Linked DNA regions of Homo sapiens: regions 1 and 3 are each linked to region 2. The links are contacts of gene promoters, found by promoter capture Hi-C in blood cells and fetal thymus (Javierre and others, 2016). All regions are on one chromosome and are shown on one strand. The core of a region is centred on a gene start or on the middle of the fragment in contact, and the rest is flanking DNA. Distances in the headings are between cores, read along the strand shown.

Evidence for each region. The method cuts DNA at HindIII sites, captures the fragments that hold promoters and counts their contacts. A CHiCAGO score of 5 or more calls a contact.
Region 1: a contact is called between a fragment that was not itself captured here and the fragment with the promoter of FRGCA in region 2, in 2 of 17 cell types (M1 macrophages and naive CD4 T cells). The highest score is 5.1, in M1 macrophages.
Region 3: a contact is called between a fragment that was not itself captured here and the fragment with the promoter of FRGCA in region 2, in 5 of 17 cell types (naive CD4 T cells, M1 macrophages, M0 macrophages and 2 more). The highest score is 6.3, in naive CD4 T cells.

What each region holds. Positions count from the first base shown.
Region 1 is chr21:43,705,188-43,708,950 of GRCh38, forward strand. No RefSeq gene overlaps it. Among named protein-coding and RNA genes, the nearest start is that of PDXK, 12 kb to the right of the region's middle. RefSeq lists an enhancer at 2,041-2,574. The HindIII fragment of the contact is 1,247 bases long and covers 1,456-2,702 here.
Region 2 is chr21:43,139,220-43,142,607 of GRCh38, forward strand. FRGCA (FOXM1-regulated, gastric cancer associated) reads right to left here and starts at 1,873. Exons shown (of 2, transcript NR_133677.1): 1 at 1,743-1,873; 2 at 1,304-1,594. All of the region lies in intron 4 of LOC101928369 (a long non-coding RNA gene), which reads left to right. RefSeq lists enhancers at 2,266-2,803, 2,804-3,339. The HindIII fragment of the contact is 22,159 bases long and covers 1-3,388 here.
Region 3 is chr21:43,680,884-43,684,768 of GRCh38, forward strand. It overlaps RRP1B (ribosomal RNA processing 1B), which reads left to right. Exons shown (of 16, transcript NM_015056.3): 9 at 2,396-2,490; 10 at 3,670-3,767. Among named protein-coding and RNA genes, the nearest start is that of RRP1B, 23 kb to the left of the region's middle. The HindIII fragment of the contact is 2,065 bases long and covers 1,480-3,544 here.

The DNA.
Region 1 (3,763 bases), core at 829-3,328, 570 kb after region 2:
CACATGCTCTCAGTTACAAGTGGGAGCTAAACATCAGTGCCCATGGACATAAAAGACCGCAACAGTAAACACTGGGACCACCAGAGAGGAGAGGGAGGGAGCGGGGAAGGGCTGAGAAACCAACTGCCGGAGACTATGCTCAGTACCTGGGTGCAGGATCATTCGCACCCCAAACCTCAGCATCACGCAGTATACCCAGGAAACAGACCTGCACCTGCATCCCTGAATTAAAAATAAAAGTTGGAAAAGAAAAAAATAGACTGGGTGTGGTGGCTCATGCCTGTAATCCCAGAACTTTGGGAGGCCGAGGCGGGCGGATCACCTAAGGTCAGGAGTTTGAGACCAGCCTGGCCAACGTGGCAAAACCCCATATCTACTAAAACTACAAAAATTAGCCCAGAAGGGTGGCCGATGCCTGTAATCCCAGCTACTTGGGAGGCTGAGGCAGGAGAATTGCTTGAGCCCAGGAGGCGGAGGTTGCAGTGAGCCAAGATCACTCAACTGCCCTCCAGCCTGGGCAACACAGCAAGATTCTGTCTCAAAAAAAAAAAAAAAAAAGAAAGAAAGAAAAAGAAAACAAATACATAAATAGTCAGAATAAATAGCTCTACGAGTTAAAGGTGGTCCCTGTATCAAGAATGAGACATGCAGATGGAGAGCCTGCTGAAGGGAATGCTGTTTTCCATTAAAGATCTTATTATTTTGCTTTAAAAAATTGTTTGCATCATTAGATAGAAAATAAAGTTTAATTGAAAAAAATAAGATTTCTATAAGGAAAACACTAACATAGGGCCAGGCGTGGTGGCTCACGCCTGTAATCCCAGCACTTTGGGAGGCCAAGACGGGTGGATCATCTGAGGTCAGGAGTTCGAGACCAGCCTGGCAGACATGGTGAAACCTTGTCTCTACTAAAAATACAAAAATTAGCCAGGCATGGTGGCACATGCTTGTAATTCCGGCTACTCGGGAGGCTGAGGCAGGAGAATCGCCTGAACCTGGGAGGCGGAGGTTGCAGTGAGCCGAGATCGTGGCACTGCACTCCAGCCTGGGCAACAGAGTGAGACCCTGTATCAAAAAAAAAAAAAAGAAAGAAAGAAAAAACAAACATAAAAACGAATTTGAGGCCAGGTGCAGTGGCTCATGCCTGTAATCCCAGCACTTTGGAAGGCTGAAGCAGGTGGATCACCTAAGGTCAGGAGTTCGAGACCAGCCTGGCCAACGTGGCGAAACCCCATCTCTACTAAAAATACAAAAATTAGCCCAGTGTGGTGACGTACGCCTGTAATCCCAAGCTGCTCAGGATGCTGAGTCAGAAGAATCTCTTGAACCCAGGAGGCAGAGGTTGCAGTGAACCGAGATGGCGCTACTGCACTCCAGCTTGGGCAACAGAGCAAGACTCTGACTCAAAAAAAAAAAAAAAAAAAAGAACTGTTTGCATCATTAGATAAAAAATAAAGCTTAATTGAAAAACAGTATGATTTCTATCATATAAAAGCAAACATAGAAAATGAGTCGTATGGCAAACCACAGCCTTGCTCCCGACATGCCTCACGAGCCCCATATACCCACAGAGGCCAGGAGCAGCCAGACTCACTGGCTTTACAGTTTGGTTTTGTTTGTTTTAACTTTTTTGCAGAGAACGGGGTCTCCCTATGTTGCCCAGGCTGGTCTCGAACTCCTGGGCTCAAGCAATCCTCCCGCCTTGGCCTCGCAAAGTGCTGGGATTACAGACATAAGCCCCGTGCCTGACCGGCTTTATAGTCTTTTTTTTTTTTTTTTAGACGGAGTCTCACTCTCTCACCCAGGCTGGAGTGCAGTGGCGCAATCTAGGCTCACTGCAAGCTCCACCTCCCGGGTTCACACATTCTCCTGCCTCAGCCTCCCAAGTAGCTGGGACTACAGGCGCCCACAACCACGCCTAACTTTTTGTTAAATTAGCACACCATGCTAATTTTTTGTATTTTTTTTTTTTAGTAGAGACGGGGTTTCACCGTGTTAGCCAGGATGGTCTCGAACTCCTGACCTCGTGATCCGCCCGCCTCGGCCTCCCAAAGTGCTGGAATTACAGGCGTGAGCCACCGTGCCTGGCCGACTTTACAGTCTTAAACGGGTTGTTGTGCTCCCTTTTTCTTGGGTGGGGGGGTTTGCACACCTTCAGTTGAATTCGTGCAAGTTAGAAGAGATTCCACCATAGTGAAAAAGTGGTGACTCTACCTAAATGTCCATTAACTGAGAACACAGCTGGCTGAAGACAGCCACAGAATAGTCATATACTGGAGTAAAATGCAGTCACAGGCTGGGCGCGGTGGGTCACACCTGTACTGTCTGCACTTTGGGAGGCCGAGATGCCAGGAGTTCAAGACAGGCTGGGCAGCAGAGTGAGCCCTGTCTGATATAGCTTGGATATTGGTCCCTGCCCAAATCTCATGTTGGAATGTGATCCCTGGTGCTGGAGGTGGGACCTGATGGGAGGTGGAGGTCATGGGGGCGACTCCCTCAAGAATGGCTGGGGCCATCCCCTTGGCGACAACTGAGCTCCCTGCTCTGAGTTCACAGGAGAACTGGGTGTGTAGAAGTGTGTGGCACCCCCACCCCTCACTCTCTTGCTCCTGCTTTTGCCCTGTTGCGGCGCCTGCTCCCTGCTCGCCTCCCACCATGAGTGCGAGCTCCCAAGGCCTCCCCAGAAGCTGATGCCAGAGCCAAGCTTCCTGTGCAGCCTGCAGAACCGTGAGCCAATTAAAGCTCTTTTCTTTATAAATAACCCAGTCTCAGGTATTTCTTTATAGCAATATGAGAACAGTCTAATACACTGTCTCTACAAAGAAAATTACAGAATTAGCTGGGCATGGTGGAGCATGCCTGTAATACTAGCATCTTGGGAGGCCAAAGCAGGAGGATCACTTGAGCCCAGGAAGTTGAGGCTGCAGTGAGCCCTGATGGCACCACTGCACTCCAGCCCAGGTGACAGAGCAGACCCTGTCTCAAAAAAGTAAAATAAAATTAAACGTATTAGCATATGAATATCTCTACTTTATTTTGCTGTTTATTTTTCTTTTTTCAGCAGGTGAGTTGGTGCACACCCTATAGCCGATTCCAGCTGTGTGGTGCCGTCCTGCTGTTATGTGATTATTTACAGGAGAGTTCACTTGGTTCACATCAGGGGTCACTCATGATGGGCCCTTCTCTGGGTCTGTCAAATGCTAATCTCATGTGCAGACCATCACAGTGTCCTTTTCCGGCCCTAAAGCCCGCTGTGCTTCTCATATCCATTTCTTTCCCCCTTGACCATCACAGTGTCACACAAAGTCGTTTTCTGGCCCTAAAGCCCACTGTGCTTCTCCTATCCTTTCCTTTCCCCCTTGTCCTAACCTTCTGACAACACCTGACCATTTTCTTTTTTTGGAGAGAGGGTCTGCTCTGACTCCTAGACTGGAGTGCAGAGGCATGATCTTGGCTCACTGAAACCTCTGCCTCCTGGACTCAAGCAATCCTCCTGCCTTAGCCTTTCTCAAATAGCTAGGTCTACGCTACAGGGGTGTGCCACCACACATGGTTAATTTTTGGGTTTTTTTTGTTTTGTTTTGTTTTGTTTGAGATGGGGCCCCACTATATTGTCCAACCTGGTCTTGAACTCCTGGGCTCAAACATCCACCTGCCTCGGCCTCCCAAAGTGCTGGGATGACAGGCATGAGCCACCGCGCCTGCTGGGATGACGGCATGAGCCACCGCGCCTGCTGGGATGGCGGCATGAGCCACCGTGCCT
Region 2 (3,388 bases), core at 623-3,122:
TTCTGCAACTACAGAGGTGATTATTTGGGACCACTGGATTGGGGGGAGAAAGTCAGTGTCTCCCAAGGGGTACGGCACAGGACAGAGAACCAGTATTGGAGCTCAGACAGGCTCGGGGGACTGGGAGATGGAAGCCATCGCCTTTACCTTGGGCATTTCATCTTAGGTCCCATGGAAACAGGGGCCATGGGTTGGTACTTATCATTTCTTTTAAACAGATAATGGCATACAGTAAGTCCTCAATTTCATCACAGCTTCCTGGAAACTGTGACTTTAAGCAAGACAACATATAATGAAACCAATTTTACCATAGGCTAGTTGATATAAACAAGAGTTAAATTCCTATGTCATAGGCTGGGTGCGGTGGCTCACACCAGTAATCCCAGCACTTTGGAAGGCCAAAGCGGGCAGATCACCTGAGGTTGGGAGTTCAAGACCAGCCTGACCAACATGGAGAAATACTAAAAATACAAAAGTAGCTGGGTGTGGTGGTGCATGCCTGTAATCCCAGCTACTCGGGAGGCTGAGGCAGGAGAATCGCTTGAACCTGGGAGGTGGAGGTTGCAGTGAGCCGAGATCACGCCACCGCACTCCAGCCTGGGCAATAAGTGTGAAACTCTGTCTCAAAAAAAAAAAAGAGGCATATTTCTGCTCTCAAAACATCACCAGAACAGGTGTGGTGGCTCACACCTGTAATCCCAGCACTTCGGGAGGCTGAGGTGGCAGATCTCTTGAGGCAAGGAGTTCAAAACCAGCCTGGGCGACATGATGAAACCCCATCTCTACAAAAAATGCCCCCCAAATTAGCCAGGAAAGGTGGTGTGTGCCTGTGGTCCCAGCTACTTAGGAGGCTGAGGTGGGAGGATTGCTTGAGCCTCAGAGGCTAAGGTTGCGGTGAGCTGTGATCACACCACCACACTCCAGCCTGGGCGACGGAACAAAACCCTATTTCCAAAAAAACCCCACAAAAAAACAAAAAACACCACCAAATTTCTAAAGACCCAAACACTTCTAATATTAAACATTGAAATAAATGTAAACTATCCCTACATGTAGAGGTAGCTACACCTACATAAGGAAGATTAATACAAACAAGTGAGATCATGATCTACCCAATATTTGGGATGTCTGTGAGTGACGGCGGTGGTAGTGGTGGTGGTGAAATCACGGAATCAATGTCTGCAAAGCACACGCTCTTGGGAGCACCTCCTCCCACCGCACAGCTGAAAGACAAGCGACCGTGAGTATGGCGGCTCCTTGAGCACCCTCACACGCGGCGTTTGTTGTCATGCGTTTGTGTGATTACCGTAGGCTTTATAATTTTTATTTGATAATTTATATTCATGTATTCATTCATTTTCCAACTTGCTTTCTCCAGTTCAGAGTGGCAGGTGACCAGGGCCCATCCTGGAGGCTCAGTGCCAAGGTGGGCACCCGCCCTGGATAGGACAGGCCTCCATGGGACACCCACACTCACTCGGACTAGGCCCATGTAGACATGCCGTGAGGCTGAGGTGTATACTTGGGATGTGGGAGGAAACTGGAGGACCTGGAGAAAACCCGCGCGGACCTGGGGAGACCTCCTCAATGCTCCCTAGAATGAAACGATGGGATTTGAGGACCTGCTGTATTTATTTGTCCCAATCCAGCGGCCCTGGCCTTCAGTGCACAGTAGTCCCTGCTGCTGGGCACACATCCCCTCATGCTCAGTCCATTGACCAGGACTGGGCACATGGCCTCACCTAGCTGCGGGCAGTGGCTTCTGCCCTGGGGCAGGCAGCTGCTCCAGGTCTGGAGATGAGCCCCACCTCCAGGTGCAGCTGCTCCAGGTGTGGAAACGGGGCTCTACCTCGTGGGGAGCGTCCGCTGCGGGCCACAACCTTGCTGGGAGGCTGCGGGAGATGGGGGGTAAGAGGGGTGATGTTGAGGCTTTCCCTCCTCGGCAGTGACCGGCGCAGCCCTCCCCAGTGTAGCTCCCCCCTCCCCACCCCTCCCTCCATCTGGAACACAGCACGGGGGCTGCCCTCCAGCCCTCAGTGTGCAGGGCTTGCACACCTTGGCTTGCAGGGCATTTGGGGGATCCCAGTGGGGCAACTGCCAGCTGGAGAGATGCTGGTGCCCAGCCGTGCTGCTCCTGGGGGCAGGCTGGGTAGGGGCTGAGGGGCCGGAGTGAGCGGTCCACAGTCATCCAGGAACAACAGGGCTCTCACCTGGCAGGGCTCCCAGGCACGTTGATGGAGGGAGGGTTTCCTCAGTCCTCTCCCCCAGCCCTTACTGGGCAGTACCCCCACCCACCATACTGTCTCTTGCCTGGGTCTCAGGTGGTTGGCGCTGTCTGGCCCCTGCCTCTCCCTCTGTCCCTTCAGCTGAAGCGGGCTCCACGCCATCCCAGGACTTCCCGCGCGGTCTGAAGCACAGCCACATCCGGTCTGACCGTCCCTCACCCCTCCCTCACCCCTCCCTCGCCCCCCCTCGCCCCTCCCTCGCCCCTCCCTCGCCCCCCCTCGCCACCCCAGGAGGAAATAGAGGCTGAGTGTCCGTGCCCTGCAGCCGAGCAGCCACCCTTGCCTTTGGCCCCACCTTCGCCTGCCTGGCGGCCGTCCTGTCACCTGTCATTCAGCCCTTGCTGTCTGCTGGGCACGTGCCCTGCAGGTGGGGTGCACGGCAGGCCCATGAGTGCCCACCATGCCTCGCCATTCAGGAAGCCACCCAGGTGCTCCGGGCGGTGTCAGGGCAGGGTGCGTCTGTGCGGCGTTTGCATGTGTCCACCGTCCTGACCGGGGGCAGGGCCACGTCCCACACATCTTTCTGCCTAACTTATGATGTGGCAAAGACACATCCCGATACCTCTCCCGGGTGGGCCTGTGAGCTGGGCTCTGTGACGCCAAGGCCCAGGACCTGCTCAGCCCTGGGAAGATGGAACTGGAGGGGACCTTGAGATGGCTGGCCCAGCCCCTTGTCTTATAGACAGGGAGACAGCAGAAAGGGAGATGGAGTCACCGGCCAGGACCCCAGCTATGAGTGGGAGCTGGACCAGGAGTTGAGTGTCCTGAGCCACCTCCTCCCTGTGCTGGGTCCACTCTCAGAAACACTCCAGGTCTGGAGGCAGACCTGGAGGCAGGGCAGGGCAGGGCAGGGAGGGCAGAATGGCTATGATGTGGTGAGGCTGTGTCCCCACCCAAATCTCACCTCGAATTGTAATCCCCAGGTGTTGAAGGAGGGAGGCGATTGGATCATGAGGCGGTTTCCTCCATGCTGTTCTCATGATAGCTAGTGAGTTCTCATGGGATCTGATGGTTTTATAAGGGGCTCTTCCCCCTTCGCTTGCTCTTGCTCTCTCTCTCCTGCCACCATGTGAAGAAGGTGCCTGCTTCCCCTTCAGCCATGA
Region 3 (3,885 bases), core at 1,262-3,761, 540 kb after region 2:
GGGTGATTTCTGTTTCCTTTGTACTTCTCTATTTCCTACAGTGATTATATATTATATTTAATCAGAAAAAATCAAGCCGGTTGCAGTGGCTCATGCCTATAATCCCAGCACTCTGGGAAGCCCAGGCAGTCGGATAACTTGAGGTCAGGAGTTCGAGACCAGCCTGGCCAACATGGTGAAACCAAGTCTCTACCAAAAAGTACAAAAATTAGCCAGGTATGGTGGCGGTCGCCTATAGTCCCAGCTACTTGGGAGGCTGAGGTGGGAGAGAATCACTTGAACCCAGGAGGTGGAGGCTGAAGTGAGCCAAGATCGTGCCACTGCACTCCAGCCTGGGCAACCAAGCAAAACACTGTCTCAAAAAATAAATAAATAAACAGATAGATAGATAGATAGATAGATAGATAGATAGATAGATAGAATCAAGAACCTTTTTTTTCTTTTTAATTTTTAGACCTGGTGGACGGGAAGTAATTTTTTTTTTTTTTTGAGATGGAGTTTCGCTCTTGTCGCCCAGGCTGGAGTGCAATGGCGCAATCTCAGCTCACTGCAACCTCTGCCTCCCGGGTTCAAGCAATTCTCCTGCCTCAGCCTCCCAAGTAGCTGGGATTACAGGCATGCACCACCATGCTTAGCAAAATTTGTATCTATCTTTTGGTCAGGCTGGTCTCGAACTCCCGACCTCAGTTGATCCGCCCGCCTGGGCCTCCCAAAGTCTTGGAATTACAGACAGGCGTGAGCCACCATGCCCGGCCAAGAATCTTTAAAAGAAAGAAAAAATACTCTGGCCAGGCACGGTGGCTCACACCTGTAATCCCATCACTTTGGGAGCCTGAGGTGGGAGGATCACTTGAGCCTAGGAGTTGGAGACCAGCTTGGGCAACATAACAAGACCTTGACTTTACAAAAATTTTAAAATTAGCCAAGCGTGATGGCACATGCCTGTGGTCTCAGCTACTCAGGAGGCTGAGCTGGGAGAATCAGTTGAACCTGGGAGGGTGAGGCTGCCGTGAATCATGATCGTGTCACTGCACTGCGTCCTGGGCAACAGAGCTACCAGCGACCCTGTCTCAAAAAAGAAAGAATAAAAGAAATAGTCTAGTCTAGGTGTGGAGACTCATGCCTATAATCCTAGTACTTTGGAAGGCCAAGATGGGAAGATCACTTGAGCCCAGGAGTTTGAGACCAGCTTGGGCAACATAATGAGACCCCCATCTCTAAAACAAAACGAAAAAAAGAAATAGTCTGATTTTAAATTTGGTGTAGATAACAGAGTTGACTAAGGACCTGGAGCAAATTTTATGTGGTCATGGGAGTAGTCTCTGGGTCCCTCCGCTCCCCACATTTCTGTCGCCTAACCTGGACACAGACTCTCTTCCAAGTGCAGTTCCGGACGTTCCCTCCCAGTTGCGTTCATGAAACGTGTGCTGCGCCTGCCCCATCCTCCCCAGGCCTTGCCCTGATGTCGCACCACTAATAAGCTTAGAGGGTTCCAGAAACAGTACACGTTTAAAATAATTTTGAGTTCTCCTGAGTCTGTTTAATCTGCTTCTTCATAGGCTGTAACACTCTGAATTTTTTAAGTGCTAAAAGTTGCATTAATATTGACTTGTGCTTCCTGAAGCATGCTCGTGAAAAGTGACTGTACTGCTGTGACAGGTTCTCACCAAGGTCCTAAACTGACCTGAGACTAGGGCCGGATTCCTGCGTCCATGCTCCTACCCCTGGTGGTCCAGGGCGATGCCGTGTCCCATCCGCTTGCCTGCGTCCCTGGACAGGAGCTTCCCATGCACCGCAGCCTTCGTCCTAACGGGACCACGTGTGGGGGAGGAAATCATCGAAGGCAGCAGGGAATTGGGGTTTTATGGGTACAAAAGGCAAAACATGTGCTTTTTCCCAGACTTACCTTCATTCCCATAGCCTGAACAATCAAAATGTCCTGGGAAATTATAAATGGCTTTGCAGAGTTTTTCTCCTTAAATAAATTTTCTTTCATTTTTTCTTTTTTTGAGACGGAGTCTCGTTGTCGCCCGGGCTGGAGTGCAGTGGCATGATCTTGGCTCACTGCAACCTCTGCCTCCTGGGTTCAAGCGATTCTCATGCCTCAGCCTCCCAAGTAGCTGGGATTACAGGCACCCGCAACCACGCCCAGCTAATTTTTGTATTTTTAGTGGAGACGGGGTTTCGCCATGTTGCCCAGGCTGATCTAGAATTCCTGGCCTCAAGTGATCCACCCACCTCAGCCTCCCAAAGTGCTAGAATTACAGGCGTGAGCCACCGTGCCCAACCTTCTTTTTTGCTAAGAGACACCTAATTAGACAGTGGCTCCTGTGGAAGTAGTCACTTCTGTGTATTTGATATGTCAATAATTTGGTCTTTGGGTATATTTTGACAGCACTGGGCAAAAACCATTCCAGAAAAGATGGACTCAGTGATGAAAGAGGAAGAGATGACTGTGGAACCTTTGAGGACACAGGGCCCCTTCTCCAGGTGGGTAGCAGTTGTTGCTTTTTATAGAATATAGATTTGCTGTGGAGTAGCCTGACTAGAGAATTAGGGTCACAGCTAGTTAAGCTATAAGGCCTGAAGCGTAAACTCCTTTTTAATCCCTTCAGTCACTAAATGTCACCTTCTGAAGAATAACCTTATTGGAGACAAGGAAATGTAAATATGATGGAGTTTTGAAAGAGATAGTAGCACTTATTTTGAATGGCTAAGCTCTCCTCTGTTCTCTACCACAGAGCCAGCTCTAGTGGCACTTTTCAAATAAAAAAAAGTTTGCCAAGTACAGATTGCAAATCTAGATTAAATTTAAAATTTAATTACAAGCTCACGCCTGTAATCCCAGCACTTTGGGAGGCCCAGGCGGGCAGATCACCTGAGGTCAAGAGTTCGAGACCAGCCTGGCCAACACAGTGAAACCCGTCTCTACTAAAAATACAAAAATTAGCCCGACACCGTGGCGCACGCCTGTAATCCCAGCTACTCGGGAGGCTGAGGCAGGAAAATCATTTGAACCCGGGAGGTGGAGGTTGCAGTGAACTGAGATCATGCCACTGCACTCCAGCCTGGGTGACAGACTCTGGCTCAAAAAAAAAAAAAAAAAAGCACACCCAGGTAAATTTTGTTGTGGGTACTCTATCACAATTTTTTTTTTTTAAGAATTGCTTACCCAGCTTTTCCCAAGAATAATTTTTTTTTTTTTTGAGACAGAGTCGCACTCTGTCTCCCAGGCTGGAGTGCGGTGGCTCGATCTCGGCTCACTGCAAGCTCTGCCTCCTGAGTTCACGCCATTCTCCTGCCTCAGCCTCCCGAGTAGCTGGGACTACAGGCGCCCGCCATCACGCCCGGCTAATATTTTGTATTTTTAGTAGAGACGGGGTTTTGCCGTGTTAGCCAGGATGGTCTCGATGTCCTGACCTTGTGATCCACCCGCCTCAGCCTCCCAAAGTGCTGGGATTACAGGCATGAGCCACCGCGCCCGGCCTGAACATGCATTTTTCAAAGGTAGTGCTTGTGCTCCTGGTTGCCAAGTCCCAGCACAAGCTTGTTTAGCCTATCTGTTGCCAAATGCTTCAGTAAGGGTTTCTCTTACTAGCAGATGTAAATGGCCAAGTCAGGCAGTGTTGTTTGGCTGCAGACTTATGTTTAGTTTCTCTTCCTGCCTAGTTTGACTATAAGGCTGTTGCTGATCGACTCCTGGAAATGACCAGCAGGAAGAACACGCCCCACTTCAACAGGAAGCGCCTCTCCAAACTCATCAAGAAGTCAGTAACTGGGGAGAGGGTTCTGACATCATCATTCCTTTAGTTCTCATCTCCTGGTGTGGGACAAGCCATCTGCATGCTTATCTTTTTTCTTTCTTCTTTTTTTGTCCTTTAATGC